Regions from separate parts of the Homo sapiens genome. Here all the other regions are linked to region 1. Evidence: promoter capture Hi-C in human tissues and cell types (Jung and others, 2019). All regions are on one chromosome and are shown on one strand. Each heading gives the region's core, a stretch centred on a gene start or on the middle of the fragment in contact. The rest is flanking DNA. Distances are from core to core; before and after follow the strand shown.

Region 1 (4,492 bases), core at 1,315-3,814:
GGCACACGTGGAACATTTTGGATTTTATTATTGAGATACAGTTAGCAGTTTGGTATTTAATAATGAATTTTTTCTCATCCTCCAGTCACAACCTGCTTGAGTAGATCTGTTTTACTGGCACTTAATCAGGACCTTTAATTCAAAAATATCTCCAAATTATAAAGAGATTATACCATGTGCCCAACGCACCATGTAATATACTATCCTCTAAATGTAAGATATTACACTGTGTGCCCAATTTACCATTTTTTTTGAACAACTCTTGTCAACTGCAGCAAAATAGGATTAAATGAAATAACGTATGTAAAATGCCTAAAAAACCAGCACATAGAAGGTATTTAATATATACAGTTTTTTCTTCTTTCCTCTGATATAGTTTATATTCAGGTGACAAAAATATTACATTCACATAAAATAAAGGAAAATGATTTTTCTTACAAAATTATGTGTCCCACTACAATAATTATTATTTAAATGGCAAACTTTGCCAATGTATTTACTATGGAAGCAGTTTGCCATAATTTACATTTACCTGCAATGTTCAGGAATATACCTATTATGTGAAGCAGGCTGGACCTCTATGACAATCACTAACATTTTCATTACACCATCACTAACTGCATTTTCTCATTCCAATATCGAGTTTTAAGTCAAACAATGGCCACATTTATTTTATTTTAATTGCAAAACCTTACCCCCACTCCCAACCAAGTCATTCTCTTATTTCTGGAATTATCTCATTATGAAGAACTCACGCAAAAACCTGCAGTTGTGCTAAACGTTAGGTTTGGATCAGATGTCATACATATAACTCTTAGCTGTTGCTCGTAAAATGCATAGTGACTTGGTTTCTAATTTTTGGTTCATGACAATTATTGCATAGGTAAAATAGTTGTGACAGTTTGATAAATAGTTAGAAAACGACTAATAGACAACCTAATAAGTCTAATGCATTTATGATGTGTATGAAAGAACAACCTCCTACAGTAAAAACATATAACTGAGCTTATTATTTACCATACTTTAAAATTAATGATTATTGATAATTTAAGAAAAAATGTTAAAACATATTAAATATATTTTAAGGTCTTACTTAGGCATTCTGTTGCTGTTTCTCCCTGAATTTTTTTTATATTTTTCATTAAGATAAATGAAAATATGGAGTATTTAAAAGTAATGCTGTTCTTAATCCATTGGTCCTGTTCCATTATATTCTTTTTAGGCATTCATAATTAATGGTGCATATAAGCAAGAAGTGACTCTATAATAAGAAAACCTTTGGATCCATTAACCTGGCATCCATTTCTAGGGAAGGTATCACTGTGGTCCTGAAAGGATAGCTCCAAGTCACCTGTCGACATTCTTGAGTTTGCTTTGCGGAGAGAGGAAAAGACTAACAACAGAACTAAAGTAGATCCACTGAAGACATGAGTGATAGACAATCACTTCAGAACTTCACATCGCCGTCCAAGAAAACATCTAGCTGACATTTCTTCAAAAAAATTTATGTACAGTATAGTTGTCAAACTGATTTTTCAAAAGCAACTCCTTTGCTTTTCATTTTTCTCAAAGTAAAACCTCAGGGTAGCACATTCCAAAGAAGATACGAAAAAGTTTATTATTATATATTTTTCCACCATTAAATCTAGGGGTAATATCATCTGTAAATATAGTGGAGAAAGTCTGGAGACTTTTTAAAAGGAATTGTAAAGATGTTGATAGGAGTTGGGGAGAGGAATCCTTACCAAGCTCTCTACCTGACACTCCTTATTCAAAGAAAATTCTGCCCTAACGTAGCCCTGGCAGTCCATTTGTGTCCAGGGAGCTCAGTCCCCCTCCACTCTCCAGTGTATAATTCCAGCAGTAAGGAAAATTAAGACAAAGCATTCTGTGCGAGGGAGGGCGGAAAGGTTAAGCAGCGTTGGGGTGCAGTGGAAACCAGAAAAGAAAGTGACCTCATTTTGCCTGAGAAAGCACGATCCAACAAGCCCACCTTTGATGTGGATTTCAGCAGCGATAAAAGAGCACAAAGGGCGAAAGCCGGAGGGAGCAAACTTCCCTTATTCTTCCCCCCGCCCCCTACCTCTCAAGACCACCAGGAACACGCACACGCGAGGACAACAAAGCGTGCGCCCAGGCTGCACGGCAGGCGCTTCCCGCGGCTGGGCCATCGTGCCCTGGGGCGCGCCGCTCCCAACGGCAGAGCGAGGGCGCCGGAGCGCGGCTGCCGCCCGGACCGCTGGGAAAAAGGGGTGGAGGAGCTCCCCTACCTTGAACAGCACAAAGAGCCAGAGCAGAGGCAGGAGGCGGCGGGCGCCGTGTATCCCCGTGGGCAGGTGCCCCATCGCTGCGCGGACGGGGACTCGGGGGCACGGCTGCGCTAGCGGACTCCCCCGGCGGCGGCTCACAATGGCGAACTGGGGCTGCAGCCTCAGACCCTGGGCGCCGAGGTTGCTCCTGGCGAGCGCATGCTGCCTTTCCAGTCCCCCTGCGCCTGCTCCCTTTCCTCCTCTGCGCCCGGGGTCCTCCAAGAACGTGCCAGGCGCTGCTGTTCTTTAATGACTAAGGATGGAGAGGGTGGGGATTGGAGTGGGCGAGGCTCTGCCGCCGCCACCACCGCGGCTGCCAGAGGAGGCGCGGGGTCTGTGTGGTGAGCGAGAGGCGGGGACCCCGCGCCCAGCCCGCCGTAGTCCTCTGGCAGCAGGGACACTCTCACTCTGGCTGCCGACCCATAAAATGACAGCAGCCTCCCAACCCTCCACCAGGATCGGCCCGCTGCTTGCTACTGCTGGACAGCCCCCATTGCAGACTCCGCCTCAACCCCTCCCTCAATCTCTGGGTCTCAGGAGTTCTGAGGGGTTTCCCTGACCTCTCTTGAGCAATCCAGGCGCCAGATCCCAGTTCCCTCTCAATCTTCCTACATCTGTACTCAATTGCAGTTATAAAGGATCAATAACAGTTGGGTAGTTGTGACTGTAGAAATAGTGTGTAGTGTGAGTGTGTGAGTGTGTGTGATAGGAAGGGTATTTTCTCTCCTTCCCCACTGCTTCCATTATCTCCATCCCATTTCAACACTCTCACCGTCTCCGTCCCACACTCACCCAGGAACAAATAGCACAATTATGCACCTTTTCCATTTGAAATCCGCAGTTCTTGTACATTTCAGATTCTCTTTTGATACCAAAGTGTGTCGGGTCACCTGAAGCTGAATATAGAAGGGGGAAAAATCACAGTATTTTACATGTATGACCCTTGAACAACACGGGTTTGAACTGTTGGGTCCAGTTATATGCAGATTTTCTTCCACCTTTGCCAGCCTTGAGACAGCAAGACCAAACCCTCTTCCTCCTCCTCTGCCTGCTCAGCCTGAAAAGGATGACGTTAAAGACTTTTATGATAATTCACTTCCACTCAATGAATATAAATGTATTTTCTCCTCTTTATGGTTTTCTTAATAATATTTTCTGTTCTCTAGCGTACTTTATTGTAAGAATACAGTATACAATACATACAACACAAAATGTGTGTTAATCAACTGTTTATTATGTTATCAGTAAGGTTTCCGGTCAAGAGTAGGCTATTAGTAGTTAAGGTTTTGATGAGTTCAAAGTTATATGTGGATTTTCAACTACGTGATTCTCTGTGTTGTCCAAGTGTCAACGGTATGTACAGTTATATTTTTAAACAATTATCTGTGAATAATTTTACTGGGATGTTTTAGAATCACAAGCAACGACTTTCAAGCTGTGGGTCCCCAATCTACTACTTGTCTCCTTTTTTGTTATGTGTATTTTTTTAAAGATAAGTCTGTCGAAATCAACTCTGGTATGCACTGTTCAGATAGAAATCATTTCTTATTGTCATGTAAATTACCCTTGCTGTGCCCTGTCAGTATTGGAACTTATTTATACCTGAGACATGCTTGGGCAACAGGAGACAGGAAAGGCCACCCTGGTCATGAATGTAGGTGTTCAGGCATAGACTTTGTCAGTCACACAGCTAGGGAGTGGTGGCCTGAGAAAAGGATCCAGAGCTGTGTTTACTCAGCTTTTGCTGCATGAGCAATGGCCAAACACTAATCATTTGGTTGTTGTTTGTATGTGTCTTAAGGAAGCTTTAGATTGAATATGTTTACATAAGTGTGAATATGTATATATACACATGTGTACATGTACACATATGTGTACATGTACATATGTGTACACACATGTGTGTGCATGTACATATGTGTACACATATGTGTGTGCATGTACATATGTGTGTACACATATGTGTATGTGTGTACATAGATACATATGTGTATGCATACGTATATGTATATGTACGCATATGTATATGCATGGTACATATATGTATATATGTACCAAATTTCATATGCATGAAATATGTACCAAAATTCATATGCATGAAAATATAGAATGATGGTCTGAATTTTTGTGAGAATATTATCCTTGGTGTCTTCTTTTAGAAGCTTCTTTTGTTTTCACATTCC
Region 2 (4,492 bases), core at 768-3,267, 200 kb before region 1:
TGAGCACTGTAAAAATGTTCTTCCTCATGGCCTGTACAGTTTGTTGCCAGGTGAATTGCAGCTTGTTTACCTGTTATTTGCTCCTTTTCTCTTGATGCTTTCAGGATCTTCTCTTTGTCCTTGACCTTTGAGAGTCTGAGTATTATACGCTTTGGGGTGATTTTATTTGAGTGGTATCTGTTTGGTATTCTCAGACCCTCATGAACCTGGCTATTTGTACCTGTCTCAAGTTTTGGAATGTTTTCTATTATTATTTCTTTCAGTAAACTTCCTTATTCAGCTCCCCCTTGAATACTAATAATTCTTATGTTTGATCTTTTAAGGTTTTTTTAATACCTTTTTTTTTTTTGACAGATTCTTGCTCTGTCACCCAGGCTGGTGTGCAGTGGTGCGATCTCGGCTCACTGCAAGCTCCACCTCCTGAGTTCACATCATTCTCCTGCCTCAGCCTCCCGAGTAGCTGGGACTACAGGCACCCGCCACCATGCTGGCTAATTTTTTTTTTTTTTTTGTATTTTTATTAGAGACAGGGTTTCACCATGTTAGCCAGGATGGTCTTGATCTCCTGACCTCGTGATCTGCCCGCCTTGGCCTCCCAAAGTGCTGGGATTACAGGTGTGAGCCACCGTGCCCAGCCTTTTTTTTTTAATATCTTATAGTCAGACTTCACTTACTTTCAGTCTTATTTTTCTTTTTTCTCCTCCAATGGTGTATTTTCAGATAGGCTTTTAGCTCCCTGAATCATTCCACTCCTTTGTCCATTCTGCTGTGATGTGTTTTTCAGTTCAGCAAACGTATTTTCCAGTACCAAGAATTTGTTTGATTTAAAAATTTCTCTGATAAATTTCTGAATTGCTTTTCTGTGTTTTCCTGGACATCACTGATTTTCCTTAAACTGTATTTTGAATTCTTGTTCAGAGAGCTCACAGATCACCATCTTGTTAGGGTCAGTCATTGGATTTTTGCTTTGTCCTTTTCCTGGGTAGCGTGGGCGGGTCACAGTTCCCTGTTTGATGTTGTTTCTTATGGGCATAGAACTATGTCTTTGCATTAAATAATTAACTATTTAGTCCACTTTCCTTTGTCTGCCTTGCCTTGTTTTGTCTTTTATTGGCTATGTTTGCCTAGCAAATATTTACCACTAGATCACTGCCTACATTTCAGCTCTAGGTGGCACCTTAAGTCCAGATTTGCCTTGGCTCTGCCTGTCCTGAAAAAGAAAGGTCTTAAAGGAATTATCCTGGCAGTGTGTCAAAGTTAGCTGGGGGGCTCATGCCCAAGGGACCTGTGAAATGTACCTCCTACAGTATGGTGCTGCTGAACAGCCACTCTGATTTGGTGTCTCCTTTGGCCAAGTTACAGAGCAGAGTTGCTGGGACTGGGAATGGTAGTTCCATCTCATCTCTTTGTTTCTGCCTATCCTCAAGCTATTTCTCCCTTCAGGCAGTCACGATGCTTCCTGTGGGTTAAGGCAAGGACAGATTTCCTGCCAGGGAGCCCAAGATAGTGGGGAAACTAGTTGACTACCTCAACCTCACTTTTTCCAGTGTAGAAACATGAGTTGGCAGAAGATTTTCTGCACACTTGTTGCCAGGCAGAATCGCGGGGGAGGCGTCACGAATGTGGAAGCCTGATTCTCCTACCATCTGCCCAGAGTATTTTCACTTCTCTATGGCTCTGGAATCGGTCGCATCCTCGTATTTGAGTTCTGGGTTGTTGCTGGTGAAAATCTCAGAGTGTATATTTGCTTTTGGTTTTCTGTTGGGTAGAGGGGAGTGAAGCCAGCTTGCTTCTATGCTGCCATTTATAAACTTTTGGTGTGTTGTCCCTACTTTAATTAAAATTATTTCCATCTTTCTCTCATTATATGAAAATATATCTCATCTTTTAGTACTTATTTTAACTCTAGTTTTTATTCTAGTATCTACCTGTATCTATGCTTGTTTAGTTATTTGTTATCAATTTATATTAACTTGTTCATTTCTTTGCTTATTTTTATACTTCTTATATGAAGGACTAATGATCTTTTTATTTCTTATAAACCCCAACTTATTCATTTTAATTATATCTAGGCATCAGGTAATTTCATTATGTCTTTTAGAGTAGTTGTGTCTGACCATATATTTAGGAAATCCATATTATTTTATTATAAATTAGTTTCTTTTTGTCTTGATTTTATTCTGGAGTTGGGAAACTATATAAAATTTAAAAAATCAATATGTAGATTTTTAAATCCATTACTATTTAAGATATTAAAGAGAGCATTACATAATATTAATATGAAAATAGAATGTTGTCTTATAGGGTTGTGAACACTGCATTAGATAATCTCTAATGTGCTTCCATCTCCAAAATCCTATGACTACCTGGTTTCTTTAACCTTACAAAGAACAGCGAACACCACTGTTTCCCAGAACAGTATACAACCCACTCACAGAAACTTGTACCAAGTTGAACATACCCTTTTGCTAGTACAAATGTCTATTTTCTACTCATAAAAAATTAGCCATTTTTCTGTTATTATTTCATTGAATTGAGGAGCTCTTGCTGAATCGAATGATGCAAACATTAGTGATTATTTCACACCCATCTCTGTGCACTCTTCTTACCTAGCTTGACAAGGCGGAGCATGGAGGTATTACTTCCTCTTTCAGTACAAGCAGTTACTGAGAGGTTATAGATGTCGCCTGGAGGCAAGCTGAGAATTGCAGTCATGACATTGCGTGTTACCTGCAAGATCATCAAAATCAAGGGTTTAAACTTTTAGTGAATGAATCAGTGCACCACCCCAAACAACTAAAGGACTATAGCAGACACATTCCCTCTCTGTTCTATGCAGCAGTCTGCAATTGATTATATTATAGATACGTTATATCTTCTGAAAATTTTATAAATTCCTCAGCTGGGCCCAATGTGAGGTAGCCTTAATAATGCATTATATACATCAGAAAAATTTTGCAATGAATTCCCTTATTTGGAATGGGTCTCATTCTGACATTTTCTCACATATTGATAACAGGTTTTAGAAAAGACAATTACTGAGTTGCTACTGATATGTACATTCTAAGACGTTCAAAAGAAACCTACCCATATCTGTAGACGTGTGGCTTCCTACCTAACAGCCATTGTTATTTCCCATCCTCTCCTACAGCTAGAGGGGATGATGTGACCCAGCTCTGATCAGTGGATTGTAAGTAGAAGTCACATGGACAAATGACAGTTCAGTTCACATCCTGTAAGTGCTGGGCTTCCACATCATCCCTTTTCTTTTCCCCTTCCTGCAGGCTGGAACATGCATGTAATGGTGATAAAGCTTCCTCTCTAGAGACAAGGACTATGCATAGTGGCAGATGGAACAACAAAACAGAATTTGCCTCCCTGGGTGACCCCTTAAAGCAGAAGTGCCTGGTTAGTCCTGTGCTATCATGGGAGAGGTATAAACTTCTATTTTGTTTGAGCCACTCTCTTTTTGTTTGTTTCTTTATTACAGTAGTTTAGTCTGTCCCCTTATCAATAAACATCCAAAAGCGTATTTTGGAGAAAAGAAATCAGTAGTCCCAAGGTCCCCAAATCTTTAGGTGTCGGTGATATATGGGAAAAAATGGGAAACACGTTAATTGTAGTTTTCTTGAAAATGTTTGGCATCCTGAAGAAAAAGCTCAAATCATAATTCTAAATATAAATGAAATCAATAGTTGGAGCTCTTACATCTCACTGTTAAAGATTAAACGGTAAGCTCTATGAAAGGAAGAATTCAATTTTTGTTCACTGTCTTATCTCCAGAGCCTAAAACAGACAACTGGTATGCAAACATTTGACGTGTCAATAAATGATTGCTTAGTGGTTTTCAATAGTTCATAAAACTAAATTTACAGACACACAATGCTGGCATTCAAAGAAACATACACTCTTTTTAATTTTCTTTTTTCCTTCTGCAACCACCATCCAGTGAAGCATTCTAGAATGGGACAAGTCCGTTGTATCATCCCCATATGTCCAACTGATATATAACAGACTGTTGAAATATTCCACAGAAGTGATTTCCGGAGCCACTGGGGCTACAAGGGAGAAACGAGGCACAATTTAGTATAATAGATGGATAAATAAAGTACTTACCAGCAGAGCATGAAATCCCATATAGAGTCAACTTAGCGAATTAGAATTCACAGCACACGATAGTCCCGGTAACTTCAGGACCTCTCAATAACAGTGAAGGATGGTGATACAGGATGGGCACTTGTTTAATGGGATCCCACATCTTGTATATCTAAGATACAAGACCCCCAGACCCATCTGTACCTGAGGATATCAAAGTCTTTTGGATAAATGTCACCATTACAAAATTCCTAAAAAGTTCACTTGTTTGGGTATATTTTTGTTACATCAACCAATTAATATTAATAGGTATCAGTGGAGTTATTAGCCAAGTAGGATTAAAAAACTTAGAGTCCTGCAAACTAAGTCTCTTTCATTTACTTGCAGCAAAGGTGTT
Region 3 (4,492 bases), core at 1,344-3,843, 140 kb before region 1:
TTAAGATCAGTCGTTTTTATTACATGAGGAGTTACAGGGCAGTTGGCTGTAGTGGAAACAGTAGTGATTTAAAGACAAATAGGGCTGAATATGAACGTTGGTTGCATCGTATACAGACAGAATTTCTCTCAGCCTTAGGTTCTTCATCTATAAAATGGGAGAAGGACACCAACATCACAAGGTTGTTGTGAGATTAAGAGGAAAAATGTAATTAAGGTGCTTGCCATAGTTTAGATGTTACACACACTATGTGCTTAATTTTGATGGTCTAAAAAGGTGGAAATTACATTTAATGCATATTACTAGGAAAGTTCCCATTATAGGCATTGCAAAACTTTCTGAATAACATAAGAAATCCAACAGGCAAAAAACAAATTTAAAATTTCCCTTGCATAGGAAACCTCAACATCATGCTAAAAATCTAAAATAACCATCATACAATTTTTCAATGTGCATTTTTTCAGAAACCATGGTAACTCAGATTTGCCGTTACTTGAACTAGTGACAAACATAACTGAATCAGAATGATTACTTCTTGCGCTATTAAAATAGTCTCTGACATATTCTCAATCTTTTCTATTTTTATCTTCTTCAAAATACTAGATTATGAAGCATAACAGGATTATAGTGGAACAGGATTTTGTTAAAACAATAGAATTATGAAAACAACAGGATTATGTAGAGTAATGAACAAAAAGATTTTGATTAAAAAAATCAGCTTGTTAGATTGTTGTACACAGGCAAATTATATAGCCTGAGACTCAGTTCTCTCATCTGAAAAATGGGGTTAATACTTCTTTCAACCATACTTTTGTGATGATCATATTGGATAATATTTATAAACCACCTAACATAGCTGGGTGCATTCTAAGTATCCAATAAATAGCCAGCTCTGATCATGTGTGTATTCAGCATTTTAAAACTTGGGGGAAAAAAAACCATGGGGTTTCTTATTCATTACCAAATAAAAACTGAATTACTTAGCTTAGCACTCAAAACCTTCCACAATTAGTCCCCTATTTACCATCCATCTTATCTGACACTACTTCTCTGTCACAACCTCCATGAACCCCATTAAATAGCCAAACTCCCCAGTCTCCATATGCCCCGGCTGCTTCCCTGTCTATGTCCTATTTATGCATTCCTTCTTGTTGAAATATCCTGTCCCTGCTTCAAATATCTGACACTATTCAAGTGCCACTTTCTGTGAGAAGCCTTTAGGATACCCCAGAAAGAATCGATTTCTTTCTTCCTGTAAACTCACAACCTTCTGTCTGAATCTTAGGACACATGGCTGTGTACCTGGAAACATACAACTCTACTAATTGGCAGATTGTTCTTAGAGTAAGACGTAGAAGTAATTTTAAATGTCTCTTCTCCTTTACTAAAATTCTTCTGTCCCCAAGTTAGGTATTTATAACATCTTCTTAAACCAATATATAAAGAAGAAATATGTTCAGGTTATTCACATAAAACAGAATATAGCTAGAACATTTTGCACGTTCATCTTCATTTCACAATGTTAACTTCAAATTGTCACCATTTCTAACTTTCCAATGCATGAGTAATATGTTCAGCCAGCACTGATGCTATTTTGAATTACAAGAAGGCTGGAACAACAATATGATATTTATGTTTTATAAATGAAGCTCAAAAATATCTTTGTCTTTGAGAACAGCTGTAAAAAGACAGTATTCAACTTATTGCACCAAGTGAAAGGATTCCATTCTTTGGAAGGATGGGCATTTATATAAATCATGCTGTGCTATTTGGTGTTAAGGAAACATTATTACTTTTACTTGACATATTGAACTTGTTAATTGGCATGTCATCATTAAATATTTTCTTATTGCTTGCTACCATATGTATTTCAAAAAGTGAAAAATAGAAATTTAGCATCATTAAAATAATTTTTAAAAATGATTTTTATTATTAGAAAATTTTAATGGTACAAGTTCTAATGACAATGTTGAAAATTTTCATAGAATTCTTTACAGAAATGTTTAAGTCTCTTTTCACACATTTGCCTATTATTTGAAAGCCTCTGTTCATAAGATGGCTGTTATTGGTGGTCTGAAACAAGTATATCATGCTAATTTACAATAATCCACACAGGTTACAACAAACAAAATATCTCTATTTACAAAGGTTTTATTCAATTTATAATAAAGACTAAATAAAGTCAGCTGGGCACGGTGGCTCATACCTGTAATCCCAGCACTTTGGGAGGCCAAGGTGGGCAGATCACTTGAGGTCAGGAGACCTGCCTGGCCAAGATGGTGAAACCCCCCTCTATTAAAAATACAAAAAAAAAAACAAAATTAGCTGGGCGTGGTGGCATGTGCCTGTAATCCCAGCTACTTAGGAGGCTGAGGCAGGAGAATCCCTTGAACCCAGGAGGTGGAGCTTGCAGTGAGCCGAGATTGTGTCACTGCACACCAGCCTGGGTGACAGAGTGAGACTCAGTCTCCAAAAAAAAACCCAAAACAAAACAAAAAAACTGAATAAAGTCATAGCACGCAGCATTTTCACCAGTGGCTGTGTGTTAGATCCACATGATTTGAAAAAACCAATGTTAATGTGCTTGAAGTTCTGAAACATGCCTTTCTTGTAGTCCATGTTAATTTTCCATTTGTTAACTACTTTATTTCTATTTCCTCCTCCCTGCATAAGATTCCCCTTCTCTCTTCTGCTGTGCCTCTTTTTTCTCACTTCTTCCTCTCTTTGCATTGTTTCTTACCATCTCCTTTGTGCTATGTTTAGTTAGTTCTGTATATAAAATTTCTGGGAGATTTTAGCCATTGAAGTACAGAAAATGAGACCTCACCTATCATCTATCACAGTATACAGCATAGTACTTTACTGTTTGGAACTTGAGAAATATCTGTAAAATTAAATTTATCTATCCATCCACATAACCAGCCTACATGTTTTGAGCCTTTAACCACATATTCTCACTGTGGCTGTCCAGCCTACCCCTCCTGTGTCAGAGTATTTATTTTTATTATTATAGTTCAGTTTCTGGGTTATTAAGGTAAAACCATATTATTGTATTATAGAAATGAAAGAATACCTGGACAAACAAAGAGAGCTAGTAGGAAGAGAAGCATGAAAGTAAAAAGGGAGGAAGGAGGAATCAGATGGAGAGAAAGAATATCAACAAAGAATAGCTAGGAGACAATGAAGAAAGCTTGTAAATTGGGAATAAGAGTAATATTGAATGATATAATGGTGATAGAATAAGACTGATATTTTGCATCTTTTCTGGTTATAACTCCTACCTGTATAATTATTTAATGCCTGACAAAGAAGGAAACTAATATAAATATCTCAATTGTTTCCTTATCCACCATCCATCTTCATTTTTTCTTCTATGACTATGTTATAATTTGTTTCTGATTTGCAGAGAATGCATTCTTAAAAAAATCATAGATAAAACTTTAATAAATCATATGTTGCTATGGGAACTAATAGAGCTTTAATCTTCTCCCTTTCCATGCAGTGGCTGTTCATTCACCGGGCTAAGATGGTGCCACAGAGATTCAAATATTGGATGGGAGATTGGAGTTTAGGATCTATTGATTCATAACTTTGAAGAGTTATGAATTAATAAAAGCTGAACCTTTGAGTAATTTCTAAGAATATTAAGAGATACATGCCAGATTTCCTTTTAGGTCATAAGTATCCAGGATTTATTTTCTTTACAATGACAATTTCTCTCAAGCCTTTCCCATTAAGTTAAGCTTTGAGAAAACAAATCACACACCATTTGCAGAAGAATTTAATAATAATTCAATGCATTATTTTGCAAATATATTGGTGCATAATTTATAATAATATGATGAGTTATATATATAGTATATAACAATATGATTCTTTGTTTCATTGGAATAAGAAATACTATTAACCTGATGCATTTGTTTAATTGATTAATGCATCTACATTTTTAAGTATTCCATTTAGCTTCAAAGTAAGAAAGAAATTTTTAGTTATCAGGTAATTATAATTAAGCCCATACTGACTGCTGTAATTAAAGAGAGAAAAGAATAATAACAATTGTAATAGCTAGCATACATTAAGTGAATAATATATGCCAGGAATTTCTCTACATGTCTTGAGTGAATTATGCCTATTCCTTAAAGCAATATTTAGAGCTTATTATTATTTAATCAACAATGGAAGTAGAAGACAAGAATTCATATAGGCAATTCAAGCAATTATTTTTAGTGCTTACTTGGTATTATCTACAAGAACATGATTGTGAGCACGGAACACTGGTCTCAGCCCTCACAGAGATAAGTTACAAATAAGCAATAACAGTAAGAAGCAACAAATATTATGACTAAAAGCACAGAGCACCATGGCAGCAAGAGTATTTTACCAGTGACGGTGAAGATGACACTTAAAAGATGAGCAAGGGCAGGTGTGGTGGCTCACACCTACAATCCCAGCACTTTGGGAGGCCGAGGCGGGTGGGTCACTTGAGGTCAGG

The links. Contacts are between HindIII fragments. The study calls those that stand out against the background at their distance.
Region 2: a fragment that was not itself captured here is called in contact with the fragment with the promoter of PTPRO in region 1 in 2 of the 25 tissues and cell types used here (hippocampus and lymphoblastoid cells).
Region 3: a contact is called between a fragment that was not itself captured here and the fragment with the promoter of PTPRO in region 1, in 3 of the 25 tissues and cell types used here (H1 embryonic stem cells, dorsolateral prefrontal cortex and mesenchymal stem cells).

The regions. Positions count from the first base shown.
Region 1 is chr12:15,320,580-15,325,071 of GRCh38, reverse strand. It overlaps PTPRO (protein tyrosine phosphatase receptor type O), which reads right to left and starts at 2,564. Exons shown (of 27, transcript NM_030667.3): 1 at 2,271-2,564. The coding sequence starts at 2,345. The region is part of intron 2 of LOC105369673 (a long non-coding RNA gene); the gene reads left to right. The HindIII fragment of the contact is 7,625 bases long and covers 1-4,293 here.
Region 2 is chr12:15,524,380-15,528,871 of GRCh38, reverse strand. PTPRO (protein tyrosine phosphatase receptor type O) reads right to left here. Exons shown (of 27, transcript NM_030667.3): 11 at 3,907-4,058; 12 at 2,610-2,730. Among named protein-coding and RNA genes, the nearest start is that of PTPRO, 200 kb to the right of the region's middle. RefSeq lists enhancers at 2,517-2,586, 2,115-3,314. The HindIII fragment of the contact is 4,719 bases long and covers 1-4,376 here.
Region 3 is chr12:15,462,351-15,466,842 of GRCh38, reverse strand. The region is part of intron 1 of PTPRO (protein tyrosine phosphatase receptor type O); the gene reads right to left. Among named protein-coding and RNA genes, the nearest start is that of PTPRO, 140 kb to the right of the region's middle. The HindIII fragment of the contact is 5,115 bases long and covers 36-4,492 here.